Regions from separate parts of the Homo sapiens genome. Here region 2 is linked to region 1. Evidence: promoter capture Hi-C in human tissues and cell types (Jung and others, 2019). All regions are on one chromosome and are shown on one strand. Each heading gives the region's core, a stretch centred on a gene start or on the middle of the fragment in contact. The rest is flanking DNA. Distances are from core to core; before and after follow the strand shown.

Region 1 (5,290 bases), core at 1,995-4,494:
AGAGGATCACCCAACCCAAGGTGTATCATGGGAACTTAAGAGGAGAGGATTAGCCCAGTTCATGGCTGGGCTTGGCTTTATCTTATCTGAGATTCCTTGTGGAACAGAGTTCCATCAAAGCCAGTCCAAAAGGCCTTTGTAGAAATAATTATTCTTGCTGCACTTTATGTAAATAATCAGGCCAAGTATAAGACTGAAGTCTATTTTGCAAACAACTGAGTCCTATCATAATTTCTTTTCTTTTCTTTCTTTTCTTTTTTTTTTTTTTAACAAAAACGAGGCCTGGAGAAAAATTATGTTCCAAAACTTACCATAATTTGTCATTCAATTCTAAACTCAGTTGTTTTTAAATTTTTGCCTGCATTTTTAGACTGACCCTGCTTGTGAACCAACCAGCAATCTCCAGCTGCAGCTCAGAAAGAACAAGAGGGATGGGTAATGTAAAAAAATCTGGATTAGTATTCTAGTTATGAGCAATTATCCTGCAAATTCTGCTAGGCAATGGGAATAAATAGGGTGCCCATCATCCAGAGGTTTCCTTTTGGGAAAGTAAGACCAAGGGAGCTAACCAAAGCCAAGCACCATGCACCCAAATCCTACCAAACATAACTGTAGCCACCAGTTATCTGGGTGTGTCACAAGACATCCTTTTCTCTCCCTTGTTGGAGGACTCAGTTCCACAGTTTTTCCTTAGCATTTGGCTTACGAGAAGGAGTCCATGCAACCCCTCAACCCCTGAGCATAAGTGAGGTCTAGGGAACTCCAAGACTACTGACAGCAGGGGTGATAGGGCATTCATGGGTAGAGGAGATAATTCCCACCCTCTAGACCCCTGCTTCATGGATGCAAGCCATTTTGGCACCCATGGTAGCACTTTCGAAGGTTGCATGGGGATGCAAGGATGGAAGAGGACGCTATTCCTTCTATCCCTCACGTACCCCAGGTATTTGCTAGGAAAAGAACCAGGGATGCCTGCTCCCCTCTTTCTATGTGGGTAGCCATTTATCTTCAGTCTGCACCACTTTCAAATGCATCTGGAACCCTTCGGATTCCTTTGAAAAAATGCCTTCTTTTTTCCTTTCTCCTCCTCGGTTCACAATGACAATCCTAATTGTGTCTCCATACTATGGGACACTCCCCTCAGATGCATTTTCCAAACTGGAAAGAGTTAATTTCCTAAACCTTAAACTGGCTGGCTTAGGATTGGTTTCAGGGGAAGGGAACCCAGAAGCCCAACATGCCAGCAAAAGGGTAAAGTTGTTTACCATTCGGACTTTTGGCCCCCTTCTCCGTGTACAAATTGGTAAAAAGCCTCAGGATTTTTGAGCTGTCCTTATCCCTCCCCTTGTTTCTTTTCTTTTCTTTTTTTTTTTGAGACAGGGTCTCACTCTGTCGCCCAGGCTGGAGTGCAGTGATGTGGTCTTGGCTCACTGCAACCTCCGTTCAAACGATTCTCCTGCCTCAACCTCCTAAGTAGCTGGGAGTACAGGCAGGCACCACCACTGCTGGCTAATTTTTGTATTTTTAGTAGAGACAGGGTTTCACCATGTTGGCCAGGCTGGTCTTGAACTCCTGACCTGCCAGGCTGGAGTGCAGTGGCATAATCTTGGCTCACTGCAAACTCTGCCTCCCGGATTCAAGTGATTCTCCTGCCTCAGCCTCCCAAGTAGCTGGGACTACAGGTACTTGCCATGACGCCCGGCTAATTTTTTGTATTTTTAGTAGTGACAGGGTTTCACCATGTTGGCCAGGATGGTCTCGATTTCTTGACCTCGTGATCCACCTGCCTTGGCCTCCCAAAGTGCTGGGATTACAGGCGTGAGCCACTGTGCCCGGCCATATGTGTTTAATAACCCAGTTTGTCTCTTCTTGCCTTCAGGACATCAAACGGTCATGCTACTGGAAGCTCGGACCATGGCCCCTTCTGCTGGGCACCCTTAGATAGGCCTCTGAGGGAGATCTGATTGCCATTTTCCCGAAACAGTGCCCCCTATCAGCAGGAAGCAGTTAAGATCTGTCTTTGTCCCTATTCTTATCCTAGTGGCAGTTAGATAGACTTCTTTAGAGCGAGGAATGAGCCAGATGGGAAGGGTTCCCTGGTAAAACTCCAACTGGCCTGTGCACTGCTCTGGGGTGGAGCCACAGAAGTTCGCTCCTCAGTTTGCAGCTGGGAGGAGCCTGGCCCTCCTCTTCCTCGGGAGAACCTGGGATTTAATCTGTGAGGTGGGAAGCCTACAACTAGGAGAACTCTGGCTCTGCTGAGTCCCTGTTCCCCTTTTTCTTCCTTTACACCCAATAAAACCCTGCCTTACCCTTCAAATTGTCTGCGAGCCTAATCTTTCCTGGCGTGTGACAAGGACCTCCACCGTCTTTAGCTGAACTAAGGAAAAGTCCCGCAACATTTTCATGTGTGCCTTTGTATTTTTATTACATATATGGATGTCCCTAAACAACATACATTATTGTTTTGCTTTATATATTAAAAAGGCATTCTGCAATTTGCATTTTCCCCAGCCTTGTGTTTTGAGATTTATCCATGTGGATGCGGGAAGCTGTAGAGCACTTCCCCTGCTGTGGGGCAGTTTGTTTTCTCGCTGGCGGACATTCAGCTTGTTGACAAGGTTTTGCAATTACAAGCACCTCTGCTATAGGTATTACTGTACCTGTCCCTTATACCTGCGATAGTGTCTCCCGGCATACAGCCAAGAATGGGTGTGCACACTCCTCGACCTGCTCCCTTCCACTTCGTCAGCCTGGCCGGGGGCTCTTTCAAGAGGTGGGGCCGCTTGGTGGCTTCTAAGTCGTGCCTCTCCCTCTGGGTAATAAACGCCTTGGGGGCAGGGACTTTGCAGTCTTGCTTATTGAGGCGTTTTCCAAAACAGGGACCGAGGGCTCTAACACCCGTGCGGAGGGTGGCCGGCGGGGGCGGGAGTTTGGCAGAATGCGGCTGGAGAAGGTGGGGCGAGGGAAGAAGGCTCCTGGCCTGCAGGGGCCTCTCTTCCGGCTGTTTTTCCTCCCGAAGACAAACACTCCCAACGCAGGGGCGCAGAGCCTCGGCTTCTTTCCTGGCCAGCTCCCTCAAGGCAGGGCCTAGCATGGCCCGGCCCAGCCCCTAGGTTCCCCCGCCCGCGGCTCCCGGGCGCCTCCGCCTCCCGCGGTGACTCAGGCGGCGGTGACGGCAGCGGAGGGGGCGATGACGGGCGCGCGGGCGTCCGCGGCGGAGCAGCGCAGGGCGGGGCGCAGCGGGCAGGCAAGGGCGGCCGAGCGGGCGGCGGGCATGAGCGGGGCGGGCAGGGCGCTGGCCGCGCTGCTGCTGGCCGCGTCCGTGCTGAGCGCCGCGCTGCTGGCCCCCGGCGGCTCTTCGGGGCGCGATGCCCAGGCCGCGCCGCCACGAGGTGAGTGCACACCTCCTACCGCCGCCCGGCCGGCTACGAGCGCAGCGTCTCCTCTCCGCGGCGCCGCCCCTATCTCCGTGCGCGGCGCCGAGCGCTAGGCCGGGCCGGAACCGCCCCCGTGGCCTGGGCTGTTGCTGCGACTTCGCGGTCCCGCGCCCCAGACCGGAGGCCGGACTTCGGGGTGCTGCGGCCGGGCCCCGCGGAGGCGGGGGAGGGGGCGGTTCGGACCGCGGCGGAGTGGAACCTGGGCGCCCAGGCGGCGCCCACCCCAGCGGAGCCTGCGTCCTGGCGCCTTCCGTCTAAACAGAGGCCGCGGATCGGGACGCCGGGACCCCACAAACTGGCAGCCAGGAGGCGGGCCAGCCGAGGATCGGGGGGGCTCGGACTCCCCCTGCACCCAGTCCACTGTTCGGAGGGACTTAGAGCAGGGTCCCTTCCCTGAGGGCCTCGCCCCCGAGGACGTGGCGCCGGAGCCGTGCGACCCATTGGCTTCAGCGGGTGGGAAGCCTGGGGCCGGGACGCGCGTTCGCCCCGCGCTGGGGTTGAACCTGCGTGGATGTGCGGCGGGTGAGGAACCGCGGAGAAGGCGGTGGGGGCGCGGCCTGCAGCCCGGTCCCGGGCGAGCCCTCCGCGCGTCTCCCCTCGGCGCGTTTTCCCTCCAGGGTGACTGGGAAGCCGCCGCCGCCGCCGCCGCCGCCTGGGAGGGGCCGGGCTGGGCGCTTTTGCCCCGGGCCCCGGACCCCGGGCGTTTGTCCGGTGCGCTGGCTTAAGAGGCGCTCAGCTCATACCGTGATTGCACAACTGGCTTGCTCTCCGAACTCGGTGGGGAAAACGGTGACAAATACAGATTCCAGGTCTCCATCTAGACCCCTGCACCGGGGAGCCCCAGGCCCTAGGTCCTTCGCACACGCCCCTCCCAGAGGGGTCGGGCAAGCATCGCAAACCCCTTTGGGTAGGAGGGACGGTGGGAGTCACCTGTCTTTCCCCTCTCGCGCCCTTTTCTTGGTCAGAATACGAAGTTTTAGTGTCTGTGTATGGAGTTCAAACGACCCCTCCTCTCCAAGCAGAAGCTGGAGGAGAAAGGCGTTGTGAATTTTGGAAAAGCGGCTCAGAGGATTACATTTTGTGCGATCCTTGATCCACCCAACCTTCATCTCCTGCGCTCCCCTCCTTTAAAATTGCAAGGACCCCGGGGAGGTTATGTAATCTGCCTGATCACAATTTGTCAGGGACTGATCCCGCCGAACACTCTTTGCATTTTAGCGCCAGTATTAGCTTATCAAAGGGCACTTACTTTTAGAGAGAGGTGGTTTGTAAATAGTAATCACACGTAGTGAGGGGAAGCCGCGTTGGGACCGCAAGGCTTTCCCTGTCACCTGGAGCCCATGTTTGGGCCGCACAGCTTTCCTACTAAAAACGTCATCATCTTCCTTCTTTTTGAAAATTCAGCATTTGCTTGAAGAAAAAAAAAAGTAGACTATGTCTTTAAAAATATGCCCAGCAAAGATAACTCACGAGCAGAGAGCTAGACCAGAAATTAAATATTTGGAAAGGAAATAAAGGTGTAATACACAAGCAGCACATTTATCCCCGCACCATTGGAAGGTGACTTTATTTGGTAATTTGCCCACCAAGACGAGGTAGACCAGAGGAGAGAGAAGGAAATAATTGTTCTTTTGTCTGTAACGCTCTGGGGGTATTGCCCTGGAATTTCTTAGGTCAGCTGCTGTGTGGGAAGGTGACAGCTTTTTCTTGAAGCTGAACATCAAGCTCAGTTTCGAGGTCATATTTGATGACTTATTTGATGGCTTAGTAATTGGGTCCTTTGGTCGTGTCTGTAAGTGATACAGACTGTTATTATTATTTTTAAAAACCACATTCAAATAATGCAAAGT
Region 2 (5,290 bases), core at 2,063-4,562, 640 kb after region 1:
TAAGCGTTTCTATGCATTCATGAGGTTGGAAACAATATTTCTGGAAAATGTGAGAAGGGACATTTGGAAGCCCATTGAGGCCTAAGGGGAAAAACTGAATATCCACTTATAAAAACTAGAAAGAAGCTATATGTGAAACTGCTTTCTGATGTATGGATTCATCTCACAGAGCTAAGTTTCTTTTGATTCAGCAGGATGAGAACACTCTTTTTGGAAAAACAGAAAAAAATACACATTTGGGCACCCATTGAGGCCTATGGAGAAAAACAGAATATCCTTAGATGAAAACTAGAAAGAAGGTATCTGTGAAACTGCTTTCTGACAGGTGGATTCATCACACAGATTTAAGCCTTTCCTTTTATTCAGCAGTTTGGAAACACTCCTATTGGAGATCTGTGAAGGGACATTTAGGAGCATATTAAAGCCTATGGGGAAAAACGGAATGTCCCCATATAAAAACTAGAAAGAAGCTGTATGTGAAACTGCTTCATGATTTGTAGCTTCACCACAAAGAGTTAAACTCTTCTTTGGATTCAGCAGATTGGAAACACTCTTTTTGGAGAATATGTGAGGAAACTTTTGGGAACAAATTGAGGCCAATAAGGACAAAAAATATCCCCACATAAAAACTAGAATGAAGTTATCTGTGAAATTGCTTTGGAATGTGTGGATTCACGTCACAGAGTTAATCCTTTCTTTTCATTCAGCAGCCTGGAAACACTCTTTATGTGGAGTCTGCGAAGGGATTTTGGAAGCCCGTTGAGGCCTAGGAGAAAAACTGAATATCTAAAGATAAAAACTAGGAAGAGCTATCTGTGAACCCACTTTGTGATGTGTGGATTCATCTCACAGAGGTAAGCCTTTCTTTGATATTGCAGATTGTAAGTACTCTTTCAGTACAATCTACAAAGGGATACTTTGGAGCCCAATGAGGCCTATAAGTAACAACAGATTATCCCCAATAAAAACTAGAAAGAATCTATCTGTGAAACTGCTTTGTGTTGTGTGGATTCTTCTCACTGAGTTAAACTTCTCTTTTCATCCAGCAGTTTGGAACACTCTATTTGGAGAACCTGTGAAAAGATTTTGGAAGCCCATAGAAGCCTGTAGGTAAAAAGCAAATATTGACAGATAAAAACTACAAAGAAGATATCTGTGAAACTGGTCTGCATTGTGTGGATTCATCTCAGAGAATTAAACATTTTTTTGGATCCAGTAGGTTTGAAACACACATTTTGGAGAATCTGCAAAGGGACAATTGGTAGCCCATTGAGGCCTGTAAGAAAAACAGAATATCCCCAGATAAAAACTACAAAGAACCTATCTATGAAACTGCTTTGTTTTGTCTGAATTCATCTTAGAGAGTTAAACCATTTTTTTTATCCAGCAGGTTGGAAACGCTCTTTTTGGAGAATCTGCAAAGAGACAATTGGGAGCCCTTTGAGGCCTATGGGGAAAAGCAAATATTTCCAGATAAAAGCTAGGAAGACTCTATCTGTAAAATTGCTTTGTGATATGTGGGTTAATCTCACAGAGCTAAACCTTTCTTTTGATTCAGCAGGTTGGAAACACTCTTTTTGTAGAATCTGTGACAAGATATTTGAGAGCCCATTAAGGCCTATGGGAAAAAACTGAATATCCCCAGATTAAAACTAGAAACAAGCTATCTGTGAAACTGCTTCTGAAGTGTGGATTCATCTCACAGAATTAAACCTTTCTTTTGATTCTGCAGTGTGGAAACACTGTTTTTGGAGTATACACAAGCAGACATTTTGTAGCCCATTGATCATTATGGTGAAAAACCGAATATCCCCAAATAAAAACTAGAAAGAAGCAAAGTGTGAAACTGCTCTGTGATATGTGCATTCCTATCCCAGAGTTAAATTTTTCCACTAATTCAGCAGGTAGGAAACACTATTTACGGAGAAACTGTGAAGGGACAGTTGGGAGACCATTGAAGTTATGCCCAGATAAACAGAATATGCCCAGATAAAAATTAGAGAGAAGCTATCTGTGAAATTCTTTTGTGATGTGTGGATTCGTCTTAAAGAGTGAAGCCTTTCTTTTGAGAATCTGTGAAGGGACATATTTAAGCCATTTGTGCATTATAAGAAAAACTTGAATATCCACAGATAAAAACTAGAAAGAACCTATCTGAGAAACTGATTTCTGTTGTGTGGATTCATCTCACAGAGTTAAACCATTCTTTTGATTCAGCACTTTGAAAACTCTCTTTCTGGAAAATCTGTGAGGGGACATTTGGGAGCCCATTTAGGCTAATGGGGAAAAATGGAATATCTCTATATAAAAACTAGAAAGAAGCTTTCCATAAAACTGCTTTGTGATGTGTGGATTCATCTCCTGAAGGCAAACCTTTCTATTCATTCCACCAGTTAAAAACACTATTTTTGGGGAATCTGCAAAGGGACATTTTGGAGCCCAATGAGACCACGGAGAAAAGCCAAATATCACCAGATTAAAAACTAGAAAGATGCTATTTGTGAAACTGCTTTGTAATGTGTGGATTCATCTCAGAGTTAAATTTTTCTTTTGATTCAACAGGTTGAAAACACTCTGTTTGTAGAATCTGCTAATGGACATTTGAGAGCTCATTGAGGCCTACAGGGAGAAACTGAATATCCTGAGATAAAAACTACAAAGAAGCTATCTGTGAAACTGTTGTTTCAAGTATGGAATTATTTCAAAAAGTTAAATCTTTCTTTTGAGTCAGTAAGTTGGAAATACTCTTTTTGGAGAACTGTGAAAGGACATTTTAAAATCCACTGTGGTCTATGGAGAAACCTGAATATCCCAAGATAAAAAGTAGAAAGAAACTGACTGAAACGACGTTGTGATATTTGTATTCATCTCACAGAATTAAACCTTAGTTTTGAATAAGTAGGTTGGAAACACTCTTTTTGCAGAATCTGAGAAGAGATATTTGGGAACCCATCAAATGCCTATGGGGAAAAACCAAATACCCCCAGATAAAAGTTAAAAGAGGTATCTGTGAAACTGCTTTTGTGAGGGGATTCCTCTCACAGAGTTAAAGTTTTCTTTTGATTCAGTAGGTTGGAAACACTCTTATTGGAAAATCTGTGAAGGGACATTTACTTGCCATTGAGGTCAAAGGGGAAAAAGTGTATATCCCCTGAAAAAAGCTAGAACGTAGTTATCTGTGAAACTGCTTTTGTAGGTGTGGATTCGTCTAACAGAATTAAAACTTTCCTTTGATTCAGAGCTTGGAAGCACAGACATTTGGAAGCCATGTGAAGGGACATTTGGAAGCCCATTGAAGCCGAGGAGAAAAACTGAATATCCTAAGATAAAAACTAGAAAGAAGCTTTCTTTGAAACTGCTTTTTGATGTGTGGATACATCACACAGAATTAAAACTTTGTTTTGATTCAGCAGAGTGGTAATCCTATTTTTGAGAATCTGCAAAGGGACATTTCAGAGCTAATTAGCCCTATGTGAAAAAAAAAGAATATTCCCAAAGCAAAACTAGAAAGAAACTATCTCTGAAACTGCTTTGTGATGTGGTGATTCTTCTCACAGAGTTAAACCTTTCTTGTGATTCAGCAGGTTGCAAACACTCTTTTTGGAGAATGTGTGAAAGGACATTTGGAAGCACATTGAGGTATATGGATAAAAAGGAAATATCCCCAGATAAAAACTAGAAAGAAGCTATCTGTGAAGCTGTTTTGTGATATGTGGATTTATCTCACAGAGTTAAACCTTTCTTTTGATTCAGCAGGTTGGAAACACATTTTTTGGAGAATCTCCGAAGGCACATTTGGGAGCCCATTGAGAGCTAAGGGGAATAATCGAATGTCCACAGATGAAAACTAGAAAGAAGTTATGTGTGAAACTGCTTTGTTCCATGTGGATTCCTCTCACAGAGTTAAATCTTCCATTGAGGCCTATGGTGGAAAACAAAATATCACAGATAAAACTAGAAAGAAGCTATCCATGAATCTGCTTTGTTATGTGTGGACTCCCATTACAGAGTTAAACATTTCTTTTCATTCAGCAGGGTGGAAACACACTTTTTACAGAATTTGTGAAGGGACATTTGGGAGTCCATCAGGGCCTAGGTGAAAAACTGAATATCCCCAGATAAAAATAGAAAGAAGCTACCTGTGAAACTGCTTTGCAATGTGTGGATTCATCTTAGAGAGTTAAAACTCTCTTTTGATTCACCAGCTTGGAACCACTCTTTTTGGAGGATCTGTAAGGGACGTTTAAGCAACCAACAAGGCCTACTTGGAACAACAGAATATCCCAAGATAAAAACTAGAAAGAAGCTATCTGTGAAACTGCTTTGTATTGTGTGGGTTCATCTCACAGAGCTAAACCTCCGTTTTGATTCAGCAGGTTGGAAGCACTCTTTTGGTAGAATATGTGAAGAGATACTTGGGCGCCCATTGAGGACTATAGAGAAAAACCAAATATCTCCATATAAAAGCTAGATAGAAGCTATTTGTGAAACTGATTTGTGATGTGTGAATTCAAATCACAGAGTTAAAACTGTTTTTTGCATCAGCAGGTTGGAAACACCCTTCTGATTGTATGTCAAGAGACAGTCTCTAGTCCACTGAGGTCTATGAAAATAAAATGAATGTCGCCAGATAAGAAGTAGAAAGAAGCTATATGAGAAACTGATTTGTGATTTTTAGATTCATCTCACAAAGTTAAAACTTTCTTTCAATTCAGCACGTTGGAAAGACTTTTTTTGGAGAATCTCTGAAGGGACAGTTGAGAGCCAATTGAGGCCTATGGCACAAAACTGAATATCCCCAGAAAAAACTAGAAAGAAACTATCTGTGAAACTGCTTTGTGATATGTGGATTTATCTCACAGAGTTCAACCTTTCTTTTGATTCAGAATGTTGGAAACACTCTTTTTGGAGAATCTGCGAAGAAACATTCTGGAGCCCATTGTCGCCTATGGGGAAAAACAGAATATACCCAGAAGAAAATTAGAAAGAGGCTATCTGTGTAACTGCTTTGTGATTTGTGGATTCATCTCAAAGAACTAACCCTTTCTTTTGATTCAGCAGGTTGGAAACACTCTTTGGAGAATCTGCAGAGAGACATTTTGGAGCCCAGTGAGATTTATGGGGAAAAACCAAATATCACCAGATAAAAACTAAAAAGAAACTATCTGTGAAACTGCTTTGTGATATGTGCATTCATCTCACAGACTTAAACTTTCCTTTTGACTCAGCAGGTAGAAAGCACTGTTTCTGGAGAATCCTTGATGGAATATTTGGGAGCCCTTGAGTCCTA

The links. Contacts are between HindIII fragments. The study calls those that stand out against the background at their distance.
Region 2: a contact is called between a fragment that was not itself captured here and the fragment with the promoter of HGSNAT in region 1, in 2 of the 25 tissues and cell types used here (lymphoblastoid cells and mesendoderm cells).

Annotation. Positions count from the first base shown.
Region 1 is chr8:43,137,220-43,142,509 of GRCh38, forward strand. It overlaps HGSNAT (heparan-alpha-glucosaminide N-acetyltransferase), which reads left to right and starts at 3,245. Exons shown (of 18, transcript NM_152419.3): 1 at 3,245-3,395. The coding sequence starts at 3,278. RefSeq lists an enhancer at 1,907-2,201 and silencers at 3,045-3,834, 3,845-4,224. The HindIII fragment of the contact is 19,681 bases long and covers 1-5,290 here.
Region 2 is chr8:43,775,680-43,780,969 of GRCh38, forward strand. No RefSeq gene overlaps it. Among named protein-coding and RNA genes, the nearest start is that of POTEA, 490 kb to the left of the region's middle. The HindIII fragment of the contact is 5,824 bases long and covers 401-5,290 here.